Linked DNA regions of Homo sapiens: region 1 is linked to region 2. The links are contacts of gene promoters, found by promoter capture Hi-C in blood cells and fetal thymus (Javierre and others, 2016). All regions are on one chromosome and are shown on one strand. Each heading gives the region's core, a stretch centred on a gene start or on the middle of the fragment in contact. The rest is flanking DNA. Distances are from core to core; before and after follow the strand shown. Region 1 holds the start of H1-8 (H1.8 linker histone). Region 2 holds the start of EFCAB12 (EF-hand calcium binding domain 12).

Region 1 (4,545 bases), core at 1,095-3,594, 110 kb after region 2:
AGGAGCCGCAGTGTGGGTGAATTGTGGGATTCAAGCGGGGAGGAGGCTCCTTAAGTCAGACTGAAGAGCATGAACTTTCACCCACGGGCAGTGGGGAGCCATGCAGGATGCTAAGCGGGGGAGTGAAATCTGACTTCACTTTAGAACACTTTGATGACCACAGCCTCCCCGAGTCCAGATCTCTGGTGATGGAGAGCCCTCTGGGAAAATTCCACAATAAAGAGACTACCTAGAGAAGAATGTATGCTGTTTAAAACCCATCCCTTCCTCAGAGGTAACCACTTCTACTATTACCTTGGTATGAATCCATTCAGAACTTTTTTCTACTGCTTGTGACTGGTAAGATAAAAAAACAAAAAAATTTTTTAAAAATTAAAAAGAACTATTGTGCCTTCACACACACACACACACACACACACACACACGCAAGTTTTGTCTTCTCAGTAGTTGGGGTGTACTCTCCGATACATTCTGGTTCACTCCTTTTCACTACTGCATACTACTCCACTGTGCGAATAGGCCACAGTTTACTTGTTCACTCTCCACCTGATGGGCATTTATGTTGTTTTGAATTTCTGCTAAGATTGAAATAAACATCTTTGCACGTAAGTGTATATGTTTGTCTCAGATCTACGCCTAGAGTGGAATAGGTGGGTTGTGGAGTGAGTCCCTCCTTAGTTGTATGAAACATCGCTGAATTGCTTTCTAAGGCGGCTACCAGCTCACTCCCCACCCCCCAGCAGCTATACTTTCCTTGAATCCTAGTCACTCACTATTGATAGACACTTACATCTTTGTCATTTTGCTGAGTGTGAAATACAGCCTCATTCTTGTTTGTTTTCTTTTCTTTCCCTCCCCCTTTTTTTTGGGGGGGGCAGGGTCTTACTCTGTAGCCCAGGCTGGAGTGCAGGGGTGTGATCACAGCTCCCTGCAGCCTTGACCTCCCAGGCTCAAGCAATCCTCCTGCCTCGGCCTCCCAGGTAGCTGGGACTACAGGTGCACACCACCATGCCCAGCTAATTTTTGTATTTTTTGGTAGAGACAGGATTTCACTTTTTTGCCTAGGCTGGTCTTGAACTCCTGGGCTCAAGCGATCCTCCTGCCTCAGCCTCCCGAAGTTCTGGGATTACAGGTATGAGCCACCATGCCTGGCCTCTCATCCTTGTTTTAATCCATCTTGTCATTTTATATTATATTATATTATTTTATTTTATTTTTATTTACTTATTTTTGAGACACAGTTTCGCTCTTGTTGCCCAGGCTGGAGTGCAATGGCTCGATCCTGGTTCACTGCAGTCTCCAGCTCCCAGGTTCAAGTGATTCTCCTGCCTCAGCCTCCCAAGTAGCTGGGACTACAGGTGCACACCACCACGCCCAGCTAATTTTGTATTTTTAGTAGAGATGAAGTTTTACCATGTTGGCCAGGCTGGTCTCAAACTCCTGACCTCAGGTGATCCGCCCACCTCAGCCTCCCAAAGTGCTAGGATTACAGGCCTGAGCCACCGCACCAGCCCACCTTGTCATTTTAGATGGCTGCAGAATATTCTGCAGAAAGGGTGTGATTTAGCCAGGCCTTGGGTGTTTGCTTGGAAAGTTTTTTTTTTTTGTCTGTCAATTTGATGGGAAAAAGTAGTATTTCACCATTGTTTCAATTTGAATTTTCTCAAATGCCAAGGAAGTTGAGTGTCCATTTTCCTGTTTCTGTTCCTCACCCTTTAGGCTGGTGAATTGCCTGTTTATATTCTTTGTCCATTGTCCCAGTGGATGTTGTCCTTATCTATGAAGACTTTTGTGAAGCATCCTCCGTTATTGATTTATTTCTTTAAAAACAAAACCAAAGGAGGGCATAGGCCCAGAGAGCCTGGCTGGCCTCAGAAGGGGCTACTCTGATTGAGGGGCATGTGCTCTGGGCAAAAGTAGCAGTTGGGCTGCCTCCAACTGCTACTTTTTGAGAAATTGAGGCCAGCAGTGGCGTGGGGCAGCCCATTGCCCACCTGGTAGGATTAGAGGGCCGCCTCAGCGGCCTCCCTGACAACACAGGTGACCCCAATTCCTCATCAGCATCTCCAGCCCCTGGTGGGCAGAGGGCACAGGCGAGATCAAGCATCTCAGCTCCCAACATTGCACCATGGGGACTGAGACCCAGAGAAGTCAAGCGACACCCCCAAGCTTACACAGGAGTGGGTAGTCCAGCTGGGGCTCCCTACAGAAGGCAGGATGCTGTGCCCCATTCCACACCTCCAGCCCCAGTCAGCAGCTTGGAGCACTCCCAGCCCAATCAGGGCTGATTGGAGTGGTGGGGGTGGGCTGCTGGTATATAAGCCTAGTGGGCAGGCCCAGCAGCCTCACACCCGGGTGAGGGGTCTGCTGGCTGCACCTGTCGGTCTCATGGCTCCTGGGAGCGTCACCAGCGACATCTCACCCTCCTCGACTTCCACAGCAGGATCATCCAGGTCTCCTGAATCTGAAAAGCCAGGTGAGCAAGAGGAGGCAGCTCCTCCCTCATCCCTGCGAGCCCACTCCCTGGGTTGCCTTTGATGCTCCACCCCTGCTTCTCGTTCTTTCCCAGCCTGGCCCCAGCACCTACCCAGCACCCACCCAGCACTCACCCAGCACTCACCCAGCACCCACCCAGCACCAAGCTGCTGAGCTCAACTGCCTTTTGGCTGAAGAGCTGATCTACAGGTAGCAAGGCCAGGTAGGGCCTGGGGGCTGGGGCCGGCCTCGCTCAGGGAAGAGCCACAGGGCCTTCCAGCTGGAGCCCGTTTCCTGCTGGGACCGTAGCCCGTAGCCAGGCTGCAGCTGTGGGCAGCTAGTTGGAGGGACTGGGGCAGGAGCATTTTATGCAGGGCTAGGCATTCCGATTTTCAACCAAAAAACACCTCAGGGTTTATCTGGACATGAGGGTGCACCGAGGCAAACCAGGCCCAGTTCACTCCCTCGAGGACCTCCCGGTCTGATGGGGAAGCCTGGCCCATGGCTTGTTGCTGTTTGCTAATGTGATGTGTGCTTCAGTGGCGGTAATCCAGAGCTGGAGGAGCCCAGAGGAGTCCTCTAACCCACTCTGGGAGGTCAGGGAAAGCTTCCTAGAAGAGGTGACCCTGAAGGATGGGTGTGCCTCAGCCGGGGGAAGTGTTCTATTTGCCAAGACACCTAGGGAGATAGGGAGGGGGTCCAGGTGCCGAGAAGTAAAAGGGCAGAGTTAACTGGGAAGTCAGAGGTGTCCAAACCAAGGTGCATTTTGAGCCTTGAAGGATGAGTGAGAGCAGCCTGCATGACCGGGAGGAGAGAGGCAGCCCAGGCAGAGGAAACGGCATGGGCTAAGGCCCAGAGGCCAGCGCACCAGCAGCTTGTCTCGGAAGCTGCATCTTCCTTCTGGGAAGGAGGGAAGTGCTGGGGCAGTGCTAGGGGAGCAGTGGGAGGGCCTCCAAGGCGGTCTTCAGTTAGGTCAACTTTTATCTTGAACAGGGAGCCATGGACGGTTTCAAGCAGGGAGGTGAGGGGTGTGAGATACAGCGAGGAGAATGCATGCGGTGGGGAAGAGGCAGTGGGGAGGAGGCTGGGGCTGGGGAGTTGGAGAGGAGAGGCCAGAATATGGAGAGAAAAGCCTATGGGGAGGCCTCGAGTGGGTGTGGTGAGGAGGAAAGGGCCCAGAATGCCCCCAGTTCTTGCTTGGATGTTGGGTAGGTATGGGCAGTGGGGGCATGGGGCATTCCTGGAAGAGAGAGGAGGGGCAGATTTGGGGGGCTGAGCTCTGTTCTGGACATCCTGGTATACAGCAGGCATGGAATAGCTGCCGAATGAGGGGCTGGGATGAGAGGGAACAGACCTGAGGGAGGACTCCTGGGGGTGGCTCTCTGGGACAGACATGGTCTGGGGGAAGCAGAGGAGGGGTTGGAGCTGCTCGTGAAGTCAGGCCAAGCGAAGACCCTTGGGAAGCCCTGTAGCACTGCAGCTGGGAGGGCTCAGACCTCCTTAGAGGCCCCCGTCCCCACTGTACGGATGGGAAGACTGAGGCCTAGAGGGAAGAATGAAACTCCCGAGAACCCGGGAGTGACCCAGGACTACACCAGCTCAACGCCTTTGGCCCCCAAATGAATATTCCCACACTGGGCTCGTCATGGCCAGGACCCAACAGGGGTCGAAGTGATTAGGTCTCTTTATAATTTTGCTCTAGATCTAGAGTTTCATGGTTTTTTTTTTCTATTGAAAAAAAATTTTAATATAGCCAATTTTTTTTTTTTTTTTGAGACAGGGTCTTGCTTTGTCACCCAGGCTGGAGTGCAGTGGTGTGATCTCAGCTCACTGCAGTCTCCACTTCCCAGGCTCAAGCAATCTTCCCACCTCAGCCTCCCAAGTAGCTAGGCCTATAGGCACACACCACCACACTCTGCTCATTTTTAAAGATTTTCGTAGAGTCGAGGTCTCACGATATTGCCCAGAATTTAAGTCTTTAAATTCTGCAGATTGATCAGAAATCAACATTTCCATTCACCACATTTAAATCCGGTTTCATATTTAAATCCCTTTTATGCATTTCATGGT
Region 2 (4,637 bases), core at 845-3,344:
TTTTAGTAGAGATGGGGTTTCACTGTGTTAGCCAGGATGGTCTCGATCTCCTGACCTGGTGATCCGCCCACCTCAGCCTCCCAAAGTGCTAGGATTACAGGCGTGAGCCACGGCGCCCGGCCGGGGATCTTTTTTTATTATTTATTTTTAATTGAGACAGGGTCTTGCTCTGTTCCCCAAGCTGGAGTACAGTGGCTCAATCATAGCTCACTGCAGCCTTGAACTCCTGGGCTCAAATGATCCTCCCAGCTCAGCCTCCTGAGTAGCTGGGACTACAGGTGCATGCCATTAAGCCTAGCTAACCTTTTTTTTTTTTTTTTTTTTGAGATGGTGTCTTGCTCTGTCACCCAGGCTGGAGTGCAATGGCATGATCTTGGCTCACTGCAAGCTCCACCTCCCTGGTTCATGCCATTCTCCTGCCTCAGCCTCCTGAGTAGCTGTGACTACAGGCGCCTGCCACCATGCCCGGCTAATTTTTTGTATTTTTAGTAGAGACGGGGTTTCATTGTGTTAGCCAGGATGGTCTTGATCTCCTGACCTCGTGATCCACCCACCTCAGCCTCCTAAAGTGCTGGGATTACAGGCGTGAGCCACCCCACCAGGCCTGGCTAACTTTAAAAAACAATTTTGTAGAGATGGGATCTCACTATGTTGCCCAGGCTATTCTCAAACTCCTGGGCTCAAGCAATCCTCCTGCCTCAGCTTCCCATAGTGCTGGGATTACAGGCGTGAGATACTGTGCCCAGCTACTGACAAGGATCTTAAACTCAACCAACCAAGACTGGATTTGTCTTTGTGCCCCTTCCCCCACTAACTGGGTCCTCTGAGTACGTTCTCTTATCTCTGTGGAAGACATCTCCATCTACCAGGTCCCCCAGCTGCCAACTTGAGAACCATCTTTATTTGCCTCTTCTGTGTTTCCTGACCAACCAGCCCCCAAGTCCCGTAGTTCCCTCTAGCCTGGGCCTTCTCCCTCACCTCCCAGCATCTTTAGCTTGGGCATTTGACCAGAGCCCTGACCTGTGTGCCTGGGAAAGGTGGCCAGCCTCTCCAGCTCTCCCTGTTTCTCCACTGGGCATTAATGTGTTCAGTGCTGGAGAAGCGGCATGGAGAAGACCTTCAGTCTTCAAGCTTTATAGCCCCCAGCTCTCATCTCCCCACACCAACATTCTGAGTCTGCCAACTCAGTCTCAGGTCTTTTCTGACTGCTCCCAATCCAGTCCTGCCACTCCCAGTGGCCTCTCCATCTCCTGGCTTGCAGTATCTTTTATGATCTTGTCCCTTCTGACCTCTCTCACCTCATTTCCAGAGACACCAGACCTCTTGGGTCATGCTGTTTCCTTGCCCGAAATGCTTTTCCTTCCCCTTTTGGCTTGGAGAACTCCTTTTTATCCTTTAAGCTCCAGTGTAAAGATCTTTTCCAAAAGCTTGGAACTGTTCCTCCCCATCCCATACCCTCAGCACACCTTTTACTCCTGGGTGTCATCCCTGGGCCCGGCATTTACCCCTTCTTATTCTGTAATTATCCATTTATCTCTGTCCTTTACCCGTGAAGCTGCATTGCTTTGCCAAGAACTTGGTCCCCAGCACATTACTGCCAAAACCTTGAAGACTGACGTCTTCTCCATGCCTCTCCTCCAGTACTGAATACATTAATGTCCTGCAGAGAAACAGGGCGAGCTGGAGGGCTCCCGTCACATGGGTCGGGCCTCTGGTTCCTCCAACTAGGCTCAGATAGAAATCTCAGAAATGTACATGACCTGCCCCCGACTCCATGGCAACCCTTCACCCAGAGGGGGTCGGCACAATATCTGTGGCTGAGTTTTTGCCCTCACCCCACTTTCACGCGTCCTTAGGGCGCTGAGCGCTCCCTGCAGACGCTTCTTCCCGGGGCTTACCGAGCAGCGACAAGAACAGACTGTGGTACGCTTCATAGTCGTCGTCCATGGTCGTGGTGCTGGGAGGGGGTGCTGAAGGGCGTGTGTGAATGTGTGTCGATGTGGGCTTGCTTGCGTAGGGGTACCGGGGTATCAGATAAACCGTAACTCCAAGTCGTGCGAAAGGCGCTCAGCTCAGACTGCAGAAGCAACCTGTTGCCGTGGCTACGGACGCCCCGCGCCAATTGGCTGAGCGCTGTCACGTGTTAAGAGCGAGCCCGCCCTGCCGAGCGCCTGCTGGCCCCACCTCGTTTTCGTCCAATTCTGGGAGGGGCAGCGAGCAAATCCACGCCCCGCCCAGTTCTGGGCTTGGTGAAAGGCGGGATTTCTTTGTTCGGCCCAGTAGTCCCTGAATCCAGTGTAGAAAGTCTCCGGTTTTCCCGTGAAATGTGGGATCTTCCGCAGGTCTCCATATCTCTAGGCCTCAGTTTTCTCATAGGAAAAATAGGCCCTGCCTCCTCCAGAGGGTTAGGAAGAACCAAAGTGAGCTGTGGCCAGATAGAGGTGTTGGGTATGTTCTGCCCCGCTTATGGCAGGGTGCCATGGTTTGGAGTTACAGAACCTGAGGACCAGAGAATAATAATAAACCCTTGAAATGTGCATCAACTGATAAGCAAAATGAGGTATATCCATAGGATGGCCATAAGAAGGAATGAAGTACATGCTACAATATGGATAAACCTTCAAAACAGTATGCTAAGCAAGAAGCTAGACACAAAAGGCCACGTGCTGTATGATTCCATTTATGTGAAATGTTCAGCATAGACGAACCCACAGACACGGAAAGTAGATGAATGGTTGCTAGGGGATGGGGTGAGTAATTGAAGTGACTGCTAACAGGTGGAGAGATTCTTTTTGGAGTGGAAAAAAGAAATGGAAACTTCTGGAATTAGTGATGATGGCTGCACACTGTAAATGTACTAAACCACTGAACTGTACACTTTAAAATGGTTAAATGGTGGCTTTTAGCTCAATTTTTAAAAAGTTAAAGAGAAACACCTAAGCCCTTATTCCTTTGCTGAGACAAGCTATCTTTGTGACGCTTGCAAACAGATTGTTGCCATGGGCCACATTCACACAGCACTCTTGCAAGCCAGGTACCATTTTAGCACTACATGTCTGAACTTCATAATTACCATCATTGTGTGAGGTAGACACCACTATCCCATTTTTAAAAGACAAGTTAACAGGTACAGAGGTCAGGCAACCTCACCTGCAAGAAACAGGAAAAGCCAGGCCTAGAGCCTGAGCAACCTGGCTGTGTCCTGAGCTCCCCTGGTGCAGAGCTCGCCTCCTGCATTCACACGGGCCCACACTCCCCATGGAGATGCTGGGGGAAGGTATGTGACCACCAGCCCTACCACAAAGCCACACCTGATGCCCTGAGCTTGGTGAGCTCGCCCCACCCTCCAGGCCCAGCTGGGCCCAAGGTTTCAGAGGCCCCTCTCCACCCTCTTTGGGTGTCTTGTCCCTACTCCTTACCGCTTTTGTTCCCTTCCATTATTAGGTGCCCTTCTTTCTCTCTGTGAGGGTCTGTACAGAACTTGTTTATCTTTGTGCCCCTCCCCACCACAGGGCTTTACACTTTGTGAATGCTACTTGGATGTTTGTTAAATGAAAATGTGATGGTAAACTATAAAGTGGGTTTGCCTTGGGGAGAGGGAGGTGTGGCCAGTTTTCCTGTTCTCTGGTCAAAATCTATCCTTCTAAAAACTGACACTCACTAAAGTGGAAACAACCAACTACCTCTGCATCACACTGCAGCCTGATTCGGTTCACACTGCCCTACAACAAAGGCAGTTTCCTGAACAACTGATTTATTTTTCATTTATTCAATCAATTTAATTTTCAAATTATACCTTAAAATGGTAGTTGGTAATTAAGACATAGTAACTAGTTTTTTCCCTTGGTTTCTTTCTAATAGTAAATGCTTTGGTATTTGAACTGTAACAATACTTGTAATAAAAATGGCATTAAGACTTATTTTTTTTAAGACAGGGTCTTGCTGTGTCATCCAGGCTGAAGTGCAGTGGTGTGATCATAGCTCACTGCAGCCTCAATCTCCTGGGCTCAAGGGATTCTCCCACCTCAGCCTTCTGAGTAGCTGGGACCACAAGTGTATGTCACCATGCCCAATTAATTTTTAAAATTTTTTGTAGAGACGGGGTCTCATTATGTTGCCCAGTCTGGTTTTGAACTCCTGGGCTCAAGCAATCCTCCTGCCTCAGCCTCCCAAAGTGCTAGGATTACAGGTGTAAGCCACTGTGCCTGGCCAAATGGTATAAACTCCAAATGGAAGATGAGAAATGAGTTTTCACAAAGGGACCAAGGTAAAAGAGTGAGTGAGCTGAAATGGAGCAGCAGGCCCATATTCACATTAGGTTATCAAATGGATACTGGGGTGGAATCTACAATTCCTAAGAGCTAGTGTGGAGCTGTCAACAATACACAATGCCAGAGGAATCTTATTTGTCTTTGGGGTCAGCTTTTATTTTTATTTTTTAAATATATATTTTTTGAGACAGGGTCTCTCTCTGTCATCCAGACTGGAGTGCAGTGGCATGATCATGGCTCACTGAAGCCTTGACCTCCTGGGCCCTCATGAGCTCAAATGATCCTCCTGCCTCAGCCTTCCGAGATTACAGGCATGCACCACCACGCCTAGCCGATAAAAATATTTAGTGGGCCCCTAGCTTTAGC

Evidence for each region. Contacts are between HindIII fragments. The CHiCAGO score rates a contact against its expected background, and 5 or more counts as called.
Region 1: a contact is called between the fragment with the promoter of H1-8 here and the fragment with the promoter of EFCAB12 in region 2, in 3 of 17 cell types (M1 macrophages, M0 macrophages and endothelial precursors). The highest score is 9.0, in M1 macrophages.

What each region holds. Positions count from the first base shown.
Region 1 is chr3:129,540,831-129,545,375 of GRCh38, forward strand. It overlaps H1-8 (H1.8 linker histone), which reads left to right and starts at 2,345. Exons shown (of 5, transcript NM_153833.3): 1 at 2,345-2,476. The coding sequence starts at 2,389. RefSeq lists an enhancer at 1,884-2,385. The HindIII fragment of the contact is 913 bases long and covers 2,168-3,080 here.
Region 2 is chr3:129,426,542-129,431,178 of GRCh38, forward strand. It overlaps EFCAB12 (EF-hand calcium binding domain 12), which reads right to left and starts at 2,095. Exons shown (of 9, transcript NM_207307.3): 1 at 1,899-2,095. The coding sequence starts at 1,947. It overlaps MBD4 (methyl-CpG binding domain 4, DNA glycosylase), which reads right to left. Exons shown (of 8, transcript NM_001276270.2): 8 at 4,406-4,637. RefSeq lists a silencer at 2,232-2,281. The HindIII fragment of the contact is 3,479 bases long and covers 1,426-4,637 here.